2 separate regions of the Homo sapiens genome follow, and region 2 is linked to region 1. The links are contacts of gene promoters, found by promoter capture Hi-C in blood cells and fetal thymus (Javierre and others, 2016). All regions are on one chromosome and are shown on one strand. Each heading gives the region's core, a stretch centred on a gene start or on the middle of the fragment in contact. The rest is flanking DNA. Distances are from core to core; before and after follow the strand shown.

Region 1 (6,263 bases), core at 512-3,011:
GGGGGTACCAACCCCACGGCCTACCTGATCATGCAGAACTTGCCAAGGGCAAGTGAAGCAGCTGCAGAGAGGTCTGGGTTGCTATAGAGGCCTGGGTTGTTACAGACTTTAAGCAAGAGTGGAACAAAGGCAGCCAGTGTCTGTTTGCCTGTTGGAAGAGTAACTGCAGGTTTGGGACAGGTTATCTTAATTGGGAAGAAACTGCTGAGTGCAGCCATTTTTCTTACCATCCAACAGTTCCATCTCGCAGATGCCACGGATTAGTTCTGCCTCTGTGTCATCTGCTGTTGCCCCAACCAGCCCCAGCTCCTCCTCCATGGTGGTCTCAGAGCTCGTATTCTAAAGGGAATGAAATTGGGGATCATGGATAAGCAGAGACAACATTTTTGATTCCAGCCCATACTTTGTTTTGCATGAACAAAGTGAGGAAGGGCAAATTCTACAAAAACATTTAGAGAATTGTCAAATGTGTCTGTAAAGAGAAAGGATTCCTGAATTAAGCAGGGGAACAATGAGGTCCCCATTTGTTTTAAGTTGCCAAAGCGTGTTTCTGCACCTCTTCCTCATGGAAGACATCGTTTCCTATATATGGTAAACAGATGGATCACGCCAGACAATGGTTCAAAGTCACAGAGGTCAGACTTTTCTCCAGCGCTGCAAGGCTCTGTGTCTTATTTGTCTGCAAGACATCATTGCCTCTAGTGGAGGGAACACAGGGCCCCATCCGGGGCCAGGCCAGCAATGGAAGCTGATGGAAAAGGCCGGCGGGTACGTGCGTGTTCTAACAAACCCTGCCTCAGACACAAAGCCTCTGTTTTATGCTGAGGTCTCTAACTCCACACTCTGCATTTACCTAAATCTTTCCTTCCTGGGTGATCACTGACAGTTTCGTCATTGTTCACACGAACCTTTCCTACGGTAGTAGCCACAGAGAGGCAGAAACTCTTCGCTTCATGTAATAGCAGAGGAGCAGAGATTGCCGGAAGGGGATCAGCTCAGTTCTGAGCTGAGGTATGAAATAAATCTGGGAAGTGCTGAGGACATTCACACACCTTCTCCTTGGGATCTTTGGTCTTGTGCTCCTGTTCTTCCCGGAGAACTCGGCGCCGGCAGAGCTCTCCACTCACTGCCTGCTCCAAGTGGACCAGCTGCTGCAGAGCCACATCCCCAGCCAGGGACAGCAGGTTCATCAACAGGAAAGTGGGGAGCATTGCGGGGGACTCCTCTGGAGGAGAGGGAGAGGGAAGGTGGGGCAAAGAGACATTTTTAAGTCCCATCAAACCTGAATCCGATTTTTACTGATCTTCCCCTTGCTCACGTGCTATTCAAACTAGTGAAGTAGTAAGAGTTGGGGGTGGGAACTGGCCCAACTTCAACTTAGACAAAAACGACACAGTGTACACTAAGGGTTGTTGCAGATAGTGGTGGTGGCAGTGGCTCCTGGCCCTGCAGGGAGAACAGAAGCTGGCTGCCGCAGTGGGTCAACCCCTGCCCACTTACTCGGGTCCTCCTGACTGGTTCTCTTCTCTTCTAGCTTCTCCAGGGCCTGTTTTGCACAGCCCTGCAATATCTGGGCACAGATCACTTCGGGGCCCTCTGCCAGTTGGTAAATGAGGGTCACTGCCACCTCTTTGAATGGGATCCAGAGTGGGTCTGGGTGGACAAAGCCTGCAGAGGAGGAGGGAGAAGTTGTTTACTGCAACAAAGGGCCCAATTCTGCCCAAGGCCTTCCCTGAGAGCTCACCTTTTGTGACTGTCTCCCGCAGTCGCTCAAACAACCTGTGTTCCTGAGGCAGCCGGAAGGGGGGGTGACGTTTGCCCAGAGAAGGCTGTGGAGAGCAAGACAACGTGGGTGTGTGTACAGGGTGGACACGAGAATCTCCACTCTCCTTAGTTTGGAACCACCCCCACATACCTTTCTCCTGTCCGAGATGTTGGCAATGGCATGGCACACCTGCTGGGCCAGCCTGTAGTCCTGTGGAAACTTCTCATCCAGCCCTATGCTCACCAGTGTGTCTAAATTGCTTCCCACAATTTCTGGCTTTCCTCTAGGGGAAGGAAGCCACAGAGTTAAAGGCAGTCATGGATTGGACTCATCGGGGGAGAAAGGGCCAATAGGGGTAGGTACCAGCACCTCATGTGGTGTCTAGAGCCGTGGAGCACTATAGCGTGGCTCTGCCGCAGGGCCAGCCTCTTGGGTCCTGTTGCTTTACTGAATCCCACTACTACTAGGCAGGAGGGCTGGTCCTCTCACTATTTGCTTTTCCATTTAGGTGGCGTTATAACTCACAGCAGAGCTCAGTTGGGCCTCACTGTGACAATGTCACTGAAGGAAAAGGAGCCCTCTCAGAACCTTCCTTTGCTCTCCCACCCCATTGCCTGCTAGATTTGAGCCTCACCGTGCCATCATGCCAAGAAGCATGACAGAGGAACAGCGCTCCAGAGGACAGCAGGCGACCTTCTCGGTGGCCCGCTCCCACAGCAGCTGGGTCACTGCTGGTTTCAACTCATCCTTCTGCACAAACTCACAGAGCTAAAGAGAAAAGAAAAAGGGCTCAAGCCAAAAATGAACAATTCCTTGATCTTTGGTCTGCTTTTCTGAAGATGATATTGCGAACCTGAAGTAGACAAAAGTAATACTTAGGAAGAGAAAAAGAAAAGAGGAGGTTCAAAATGTACAGCAGGGTCTTGAGAGGCTTTCCATTCTCTACTTTTCTACTCTCATGCCTTCAAAACTATTTTATTCAAGTGACATATCGAAACTGACCTTTTGAGTTCCACGTGGGTCCATAGTTCTAAGTCTGGAGATTTCTAACAGGTTTTCTTGCCGTTACCACAAACTCAACATGTCCAACATGGAAGCCATCATCCTTCCTTGCCTTTTCATTTTGCCAGTGGTATCAACACTCTATCAGTAATATGTGCTTAAAATTTCGGTCATCTAATTTTTTTACAAATCAGTCACTATTTTTCCTTTAAAAATTTGTCTTCCATTAAGCCCATTCTGCAGTGATTTCTCCAATCCTCAAGTCCAGCCCCTCGTTACTGCCCACTGCAGCAGCCTCCACGGGCCTTCCTTCCCATGGGTTGGTCTCCTCAGCCTCTGCTTCCCCACGTCCCTTCTGTTGCACCCCAGTTTGCAGGTGCTCTCCCCTGCCTCTTGTAGGGCTTTTGCCGGTAACTGACCTATGACATCATGGCCAATCACCACCACCAGGCTCTTTTCTTTTCCCCAGTGAGGAGAAAAATGTGGCTGGCAGGAGCACGCTTCCCAGCGCCACCTCCACTCTCTGTGCCCGCAATGCAAATGCTACAAAGCAGAATGTCTCACTAAAATGCTGGGTGCCTGGCTAACACAGTTAAAGTCCTAGACTCCTGAAGTCATTCAGGGACTTCCACAGTTTAGTTCCAACCTACATTCACAACTTTATTATCTTTTCCAGATTTTTTTTTTTTTTTTTTTTTTTGAGACAGAGTCTCCCTCTGTCGCCCAGGCTGGAGTGCAGTGGCGCAATCTCGGCTCACTGCTACCTCCACCTCCTGGGTTCAAGCAACTGTCCTGCCTCAGCCTCCCAAGTAGCTGGGACTACAGGTGCCCACCACCACACCTGGCTAATTTTTTTGTATTTTTAGTAAAGGTGGGGTTTCGCCATGTTGACCAGGCTGGTCTCGAACTCCTGACCTCAGACCTCAGGTAATCTGCTGCCTTGGCCTCCCAAAGTGCTGGGATTACAGACGTGAGCCATCGCGCCTGGTCTTTTCCAGATAATTTGAACCAGAACACAGTCTTCTTTGTTCTACAATGTGAACTGTGCTCTTTCTTGGGTTCTGTTTGAAATGCCCTCCCTCCTTGCTCTGATTCTCTAAATCCTACTCATCTTTCAAGACCCAGCTTAAGTCCTACCACCTTCAGGAAGCTTCCTTGACCATTCTACCCCAAACCGCTCTCTTTCCTACTCTGTATCCCTCAGTAGAACACAGAAGTTAAGAGTATGTTTTCTAGAGCTCTTATTGCCTGAGTTTGAATCTCAAACTTTGCCACTAACTAGCTGTAACCAGCCAAGTTCAGTAACTTCTCTGTGCCTCAGATTTCTCATTGTAAAATGCAGATAATGCTACCTCACAGGGCTGTCGTGAGGATTAAACAAGTTACTGTGAGTAACGTGTGAGTGCCTGTCATATATTCAATACCATATAAGTGAGGTTGTTATTATTGCTATGACAACCATTACCCGTACAACTCATTCTGGCACTTTATTATCTACCTGCTGCATTGTTCTAAAAATGTTCTGTGGTTTTTCACTACCAACTAGACTGTTGGTTCCTTTAAAGTTGGGAACATGAAAGCAAATAGTCTTATACTTCTTTCTGGAGCTAAGTAAATTGCTAAATACATAGTAATAACTCAATAATACTTGTTGCCGGGCGCTTTGGCTCACGCCTGTAATCCCAGCACTCTGGGAGGTTGAGGCGGGTGGATCACGAGGTCAAGGGTTCGAGACCAGCTCGGCCAACATGGTGAAACCCCGTCTCTACTAAAGATACAAAAAACTAGTCGGGCATGGTGGCACATGCATGTAATTCCAGTTACTCGGGAGGCTGAGGCAGGAGAATTGCTTGAACCTGGGAGGCGGAGGTTGCAGTGAGCCAAGATTGTGCCATTGCACTCCAGCCTGGGCAATGGGGCATGACTCCGTCTCAAAAAAAAAAAAAAAAACAACCAAAATACTTGTTGAATGAATAAAGAAAGAGAAAGCAGGAAGCCTTACAATTTCCTCAAGACACTGAATGGTCCCAACCGAGGCATCCACTAGCAGCAGAGAGAGATTCTGAATCAAAGCCTGGGCCTTGGCTCTGTGGGAACAGCAGAGATCAGCGGTCACTATAAGATTGGGAAGCTGAACTTGGCAAACAGTGATTAGGGCTATCCCACCACAGTGCTACAAAACTGCTCTCCCTGGAAACCGAGCCCCACCCTAAGCCCCACTATGATGGACTGCCTATGGATCTGGAACTCCCCTGGAGAAATGCACCTCTTCCTTTAGGAGACAAGGGAAGTCCTGTGAGAAGCTGACCTTGGAAAAGTCAGCAAAGGCAAAAGCACCCCATATACCTGGCAGAGTCCCCTTTGGGGTTGAGGTAGAGTTGGCGGTAGGCATTAAGCACGGCTTCCCGGACACCAGGCTCCTTAGACCAGATGAGAGGCAGCATACGGCGCACCCCAAACAGGGCCTGGGGTACCCCAAATTGGAAGACCATCACAAAGAATTCAATCACCTCCTGCACCACTGAGAGAACATGTACAAATGTCACCTATCTACTTCACAAAACTCCCCCAATACCTAACGACAGAACCTTTCTGAATGTAGCAAGATGCAAATGGAGGCCTTCCGCATTTTCCCTGAGAATGTCGACTCCTCCTATGATGCCTTATCATGAAATACTATATGCATTAAAATGTATAAGCTGTAAGTGGCTAGAGGAAGCAAACAGAAAAAAAGAACCCCTGCCTTTTTTTTTTCTTTTCTTAAGACACAGGTTCTTATTCTGTTGCTCCGGCTAGAGTGCAGTGGCATGACCACAGCTCACTGTAGCCTCAAACTCCCGGGCTCAAGCAATCCTCCTGCCCAGCCTTCCGAGTAGCTGGAACTACAGGTGCGTGCCATCACGCCCAGTTAGTTTTTGTTTCTTTGTAGAGATGGGGTCTTGCTATGTTGCCCAGGCTGCTCTCGAACTCCTGGCCTCAACCTGTCTTCCTGCTTTGGCCTCCCAGTTTTGTAGGGATTACAGGCATGAGCCATCGCGCCCAGCCGAGAACCCCTGCCTTTTAAAGGAGCAGATAGATATATCAATAAAATATGGAAAAGAACTCCAAGATCCATGGCCGGGTGCAGTGGCTCACACCTGTAATACCAGCACTTTGGGAGGCTGACGCAGAAGAATTGCCTGAGCCCAGGAGTTGGAGACCAGCCTGAGCAACAAAGGAAGGCCCCATCTCTATTGTTAATAAAAATTTAAAAAATTAAAAAATCCAAAAGAACCCCAAGGCTGTCCTTATAGAAAGGGACTCTGGCATACCTGTAGTTGTGTTTTCATACATCATCTTGCTGATGATGCCAATGGCCTCTGTAATCTTCCGGGAGAAGCTGTAGGCATCCTGCAGATACTGTACCAGCATCTCCTGCTTCACTAGTTCATCATTTCCCCTGGATTCCTCAGGATCCGACATATTGGGTTTATTTTTACAGACAGTCTGTCCTGTG
Region 2 (6,263 bases), core at 1,999-4,498, 160 kb before region 1:
ACTCACTGGGGGCATGAAGATATCCCAGCAGGTGGCTGATGGGAGAGCGGGCTGGATAAAACCTGAGGGTACAGGATGAGGCATGGATGGTATACACTGTGGGCCGTGAGGGAGGGATCCAGATCCAAGGAGGGTGGGATAGGAAGCTTCATTAACCTTTCCTTCTTTCCCCACAGGAATCTAGTCCTTGTCAGGTGAGGGTGGGGAGAAAAGAGAAGCATTGGCACAGAAGGGGAAGGAGCTCAAGTGCCGGAGAGCACACTGGGCTCTCACCTTCAGCAAGGATCTCTCTTCAAAGGGACAGTGTGACCCGTGGCTCATCCATATGCAAAAGGCAAACATGAAGGCCCCTAATGAAGAGGGAATTAATTACTGCCTGATTAGACCACTGTTTCTCTAAATTTAAATAAATTAAAATACACCAGCAAGGTACTGGAAATCCTCACCTGTTCCCTCTTCCTAAATGTCCTCCTTTCCCCATGGAAAGTCAGAAGGCAGGAAAGACAGAGGAGGAAGGAGACTGTTCCAGACTCTGAACTGTACTAAAAAAATTCTCCCAAATGATACTGCACTGTCACGTTAGCCATGAAGAGTCGTAAGGCCCTGGGGAGCAAGCCCTAACTTTTCTCTCCTGTAGTTGAAACAGAGACTGTGGGGCTTTGAGAGGTCCTCAGAAAGCTGCAGCAGAGTCACTAGCCAAGAAAAAAACAATGGCCATGCTGTCCTTTTGGGAACTGGAAGGTTCTTCGAGGTCACACATCACAGCCACCACTGGAACCAGCGTCTCATCACCATCCTTTCTTTGCCTCCTGAGCTGTGCATCAAATGACTCAGCCAGGCTTCTCTTAGCATTTTTCTGGAATGCTTGCCACTGCGGCTTAGACCAAACCAGGGAATGGGGAAGCCCCCAGGAGGAGGGAGGGATCTCCCAGGCACAGCTTAGGGTGTGGAAGTGATTCAAGATGGAAACAGTATGCCAGCTGGAGAACCCCAGGCTAAAATTAACAGCCCTCCTCCCCCTACGCCCCACATTTATTGTTCTAAAGCTTTTCCCTAAGGAGTTCAAAGCACTTGAAACTTCTTTTTTTTTTTTTTGAGATGGAGTTTAGTTCTTGTTGCCCAGGCTGGAGTGCAATGGCGCAATCTTGGCTCACCACAACCTTCGCCTCCCAGGTTCAAGTGATTCTCCTGCCTCAACCTCCCAAGTAGCTGGGAAACTTCCTTCTTATAGCAAGGGCAGGAATAGGGCTGACGGAGACACGGAGACCCAGGAAGTGCCCAGTTAACATAAATAGGAAAAGAGCAGGAGGAGAACCAGAACGTATAGCTATTATTACTATTTCCTGTTCCCACCTTTCAATACCAGCCCCTGATGTCAAGGTTTCTTGAATCAGCAATCTCTAACCCACACAGCAATAGGTCTGGTCACATCTGAGCCCTTAAAATCCTTACTCTGCCAACTGTTGCTACTCAGTCAACAGAGACTGAGTGCTGAGCCCAAAAATGTGATAAAGGGAACAGACACTTTAAAAAAGATACAAACTACAATTACAATGAAATGCATCATCTATTTAAATATTTAAAGGCGTACTTTGTTACTTTCTTGCTTTGACCTTGGGGGAAAAAATCACTTAATCCTTTACAGGCTTATTTTCATTATCTGTAAAATGAGCATTATAATTATTTCTGTTAAAGTTATTTTTTGCTGGGCGTGGTGGCTCACGCCTGTAATCCCAGCACTTTGGGAGGCTGAGACAGGTGGATCAGTTGAGGTCAGGAGTTCGAGACCAGCCTGGCCAACATGGTGAAACCCCGACTCCACTAAAGATACAAAAAATTAGCCCGGTGTGGTGGCGGGCGACTGTCATCCCAGCTGCTAGGGAGGCTGAGGCAGGAGAATCGCTTGAACCCAGGAGGCAGAGGTTGCAGTGAGCCAAGATGGCGCCAATGCACTCCAGCCTGGGCAACAGGGTGACACTCTGTCTTTAAAAAAAAAAAAAAAAGGTTATTTTTCTCAGCAAGAGGCTCTTACCATTAGTAGGAGAGACCTCAGTTCTGCTTAGAGCTGAGCCCAGGGGGATTCTGGCCAGGTCGGGGTGCACGCTTGTAACAGCATTCACTTGTTCAAACAACATATTCAGCATTTACTATATGCTCAGCAAAGCAACGTATTTCCTTCCATGAGGAACTGACAATCTTGCTGGGGAATCACATGTATGAAATAGTTAAAATATCAATAAAAGGTACGTATTAAATACTATGGGAATTCAGAGGGACCATTACAGGTTGGAGCAATCAGGCAAGGCTTCCTAAAAGGGTTCATATTTAGGTGTTCATAATGAACTATAGTTCATTTATACAACAAGAGTTTACAGACCACTTAACTGCCAGGATATGAGGATACAGCAACGAACAATTCAGTCCTCGCTGTCCTGTAGCCAATATTTTAGTTGGGAGAGGTGGACAGCAAACAATAAATCAGGCAGTAATAAGTGCTATATTTAAGTAAAACAGGGTAAGGGGATAGAGATGTGGGTATGGGCAACAAGAAAAGACCAAAGTAAAGTAAGGGATGTGTCAGAGAGACAGATTTTGATGGCTGGGAGAGTTTCTAACTGGACCTAAGTAGGGACCTCCGAAAAACAAGGATACGTCCTAGTCCTTTCCCGCATATTCAAAGCATTGAGACATTCTTGGGGGTATCAGAAAAAATAATGGTAATTTCCTACATCAGCTTATTCAACATCCAGAGGGAAGAGAAACGGGGTCCCAGCATCTGAAGAACCCACACCTCCTCTCCTACCTTGATGGATAATTCATGAACCTGTCGCGTTTCCACCCCCCCACCTTCCCCAGATGTCCCTTCCGGAAGCTCAGGGCCGGAGTCCTCCGGTTTCAGCTTTTGCCCCTAGCGGAACCCGCCTTCACTTCCGCTATAGCGTCACATCCCCTCTTCCCAGTCGCTGGGCAGAAGCTATTTCCGCCCCGAGTTATCGTAACTTCTGCCCTGAATATCTCGCAGCGCTAGCGGCGCCGGAAGTGTTCCAGCCACTCCCGGAAGTGACTCGGCTTCTGCACGCCCCTCTTTCTCCATTAGCGCCCCCCCTACATTGCTATTTCCCTCCCTCCCCCCTTTTCGTTTCCGGCGCTCCCGCCTTCTCTCCGCAGAGCTCTTCTCTGAGCCTGTTGGGGGGAGGGAGGGGGGCGTGGAGGAACTGGGGTTCGCGGGAGCACGAGCTGCAGCACCACTTCCGGGTGAGTGCAAGGGGAGGGCAGCAAGGAGGGGGGGCCACCCACTACCTCGCGCCCCCGCCCTGCGGGTGTCTCGCGCGCGTTCCGTGCGTGTGAGTGTGTGGGTCTGTCTCGCTCCAGAAGTGCGTGCCCGCGCGCTGCGCCTTGCGCTTTTTCCCCTCCCTCGCCCCTTCCTGGTCCTCCCACCCTCCTCGGCTCCCTCCTTTCCCAGCAAACGCCGCCCCTCCCGCGCCCTGGCTCAGGCTCTGGCGCCGCCGCAGCCGTCGCCGCCCGGTGAGTCTCGCGCCGCTACAGCCGGCGCGCGCCAAGCTGCTTGCTCCTCCCCCCTCCCCTTTTCCTTGGGCAGGCGGGGAAGGGGGGGTCCACGATGTGACTGTGTGTGTGTCCGTCCCGGAACCGGAAGTGGTTGTGGAGGAGCGGGCGATGGGAAGGAATGGGGGGGTTTAGGGGGCGGGTGCCTGTCTGGTGGGTGGCAGAGTTCAGCTCCCTGGAGGGGAAGGAGGGACGTCCCAAGGAAGGGTCTTTGAGAAAGGGGTAGGGGACGACATCAGGAGAAGGCTCCCAGGAACTGTCTCAGGGGAGCGAAGGTTTTGAGGGGACAGCTGGGGTCTCCAGTAGATAGACCACGGTGCAGGCTGAGGGAGGTACTTCTTGGCACAAGGCCTCGGGTAGGCAGGGGGCGAAGTCCTCGAAGAAGTGGGGGGAAGGCTAGAGGAAGTGGCTGGGCCTGAACTGGCACTGTGCCTGCCACAAGGTCTTGTGCATCCCCCAGCCCTCAGCTTTGCCTTCTGAAGCCACTCCTCAGGGGCACAGACCCTCCTCCTCCTCCATCTCTAATGTTCTCTGACCCCTGGTTACCTGTGGCCTGGGAACGAACAAGGACCAGTCTCTGAGCCTAGGAGTGAAACCCAAACGCTGGTGATAGAATTCGTCTTAGTTTCTGGGAATTGGATTTATTTCTCTTGTATCCACGTAGAGGGTAGCACTAGACTGCTGTTATTATATCCACCCGTCTTTGGATTGCTGGCTGGGGGGTCTGCCTGCCTTCCAGACTGACTGCTGACAAATAATTCCTGAGGTTCTCCACAGTTCTCTGGTGGCTGCACCCTGCCTGGCCCCTGTAACCTAGACAATTTGTTTACAGAAAGTTCAGGAGCCCTGGAAAGGAGAAGGAATAAGACGGCAGGAGGAAGAGAGAGAGAGGGTAAGATGATTTTTGGGTTAATGGCTTTTCTGGTTTTGGGGGAGAAGGGGTCACAACCAAATGGGGCGTGTGTGTGTTTCACAATGTGATAGAATACTTAAAGTAATAGCAATTGTAATGCTGAGATTGTTGTGGAGAGAAATCAGTTTTTTTCTATTATCTCTTGAGGGTCAGGAAGTTTTTGTGTAAAAAGTTGGCGCTATCCCCCATCACTTTCCATTCCTACTAATGCTCATCAGGAATGAAATATGAAATGCTCAGGTGAAGCCACTGAATAGTGTTGCCTTGTGTCCAAAGGGGAAATCTTTATTCTGCTTTGGGACACAAAGACCCTAAATGCCAATATAGTCCTTATGGAATTGCTTTCCTGTGTCTGGAACAAGCAGAGCTGAGTTTAGAATGGAGTTCCTATCCCAAATAGTCCAGTGGAGTGTTAGAAGTGGGTCTGTGGAGTGATTAGAATCTGTGACACAGGGTTATTTGAATTTGGTATGGCAAGATGAAATTTTCAGGGGAAAAAAAAAACTGCTTCATGGTTAGTCTGGAGTGAAGTGGATAAAACTGTACGGAGTAGACTCCAGAAGTAGGTCTGGAAGAGTTTCGGGTAGCCTGAAAATGACAGTGAGTGGACCTAAAGAGTTTGAGTTCAGAACTTATGATCCCAGAGGTTGGTTTATAAAATGCCCTGTGGGTTTCTGAGCCAAGTTGTTGATTAAATATTGGGTACATATCTCTTCTTCTCCAGTCTTATTTATTTATTTTGGCCTCACATTCCCCAGATCCATCATTTATAGTGGAACAGACAGGGCAAGGAGAACCACCGTGCCGTCCCTCCCACAGGATGCAGGGTAAAGTGGTCCGGTGGTGCCCAGGCTAGAAGCTGTTGGCCCAGGTTGCCAGCTGTGTGGTGGTAGCAGTCCTGTTTAGTTTGTTTGTGTATGGTGTGATGATGTTTCCCAGTAACATTGGGGTGCATTTGTTCTGAGTTACTTGTACTTGGAAGAGTTTATGGATACTGGCGGGAAAGCGTCACATCCTACTGGGATGGCCCTTCTTGAATGTCTTTAGACCCTGAGAGAAAGAGATTTTGTTTCCTTTTGGAGAAACAAAAAAAACTTTCTCTGTGTTTCTTCATTTCAAGTCTTGAGCTAAGGTAACCTTTCTGCAGTTGTGTGTTTTGGAATGGTTTCTCAATAGCGTCTTAAGTTCTTTCTGTAGTTGAATTCAAGTTGATTGTTTTTTTCCATCTTTTTCTTGTTGATGCTACTTGTAGATGATTTCTAAACCGGAGGCTATAGATTTGTTACTTTTGGGTAGTTCCTTTGTAATTATGTAGTCCTTATGTAATTTTCACTAATTGTCGCTAATAGTCCTCATCTTGTGGAAGTGTTTCTGTAACTCTTCTTTTCAGGAGCACTTGGGGCATTTCATTCTTTCTCTTTTTTGTGCTGCCTTTATCTCATCACCATATGCCTTACAAACTTATTTATACAGGCCTCATCCTCTTCCATCCTCCATCCTGATAGAAACCTAGTAAAATGGTTAATTCATCCACTTAAATAGTTAAGAGTCATCCACTGATATAGGACCTAGAATTAGAATTCACAAGTCTTGGCCGGGCACGGTGGCTTACGCCTGTAATCTCAGCACTTTGGGAGGCTGAGGAGAGCGGATCACCTGAGGTCAGAAGTTCAAGACCAGCCTGGCCAACATAGCAAAATCCCGTCTCTACTAGAAATACAAAAATTATCCAGATGTGTTGGCAAGCGCCTGTAATCCCAGCTACTTGGGAGGCTGAGGCAGGAGA

What was found. The method cuts DNA at HindIII sites, captures the fragments that hold promoters and counts their contacts. A CHiCAGO score of 5 or more calls a contact.
Region 2: the fragment with the promoter of ZNF384 here is called in contact with a fragment that was not itself captured in region 1 in 5 of 17 cell types (erythroblasts, naive B cells, monocytes and 2 more); the score reaches 6.9 in erythroblasts.

Annotation. Positions count from the first base shown.
Region 1 is chr12:6,521,853-6,528,115 of GRCh38, reverse strand. NCAPD2 (non-SMC condensin I complex subunit D2) reads right to left here. Exons shown (of 32, transcript NM_014865.4): 15 at 6,079-6,263; 16 at 5,114-5,288; 17 at 4,770-4,854; 18 at 2,400-2,533; 19 at 1,916-2,048; 20 at 1,745-1,829; 21 at 1,501-1,668; 22 at 1,053-1,225; 23 at 228-339; 24 at 25-148. Among named protein-coding and RNA genes, the nearest start is that of GAPDH-DT, 9.4 kb to the left of the region's middle. The HindIII fragment of the contact is 4,316 bases long and covers 1-3,919 here.
Region 2 is chr12:6,686,360-6,692,622 of GRCh38, reverse strand. It overlaps ZNF384 (zinc finger protein 384), which reads left to right and starts at 3,248. Exons shown (of 12, transcript NM_001385745.1): 1 at 3,248-3,525; 2 at 4,397-4,456. It also overlaps a transcript of PIANP not described here. RefSeq lists silencers at 3,130-3,209, 3,290-3,399 and an enhancer at 2,770-3,396. The HindIII fragment of the contact is 17,984 bases long and covers 1,049-6,263 here.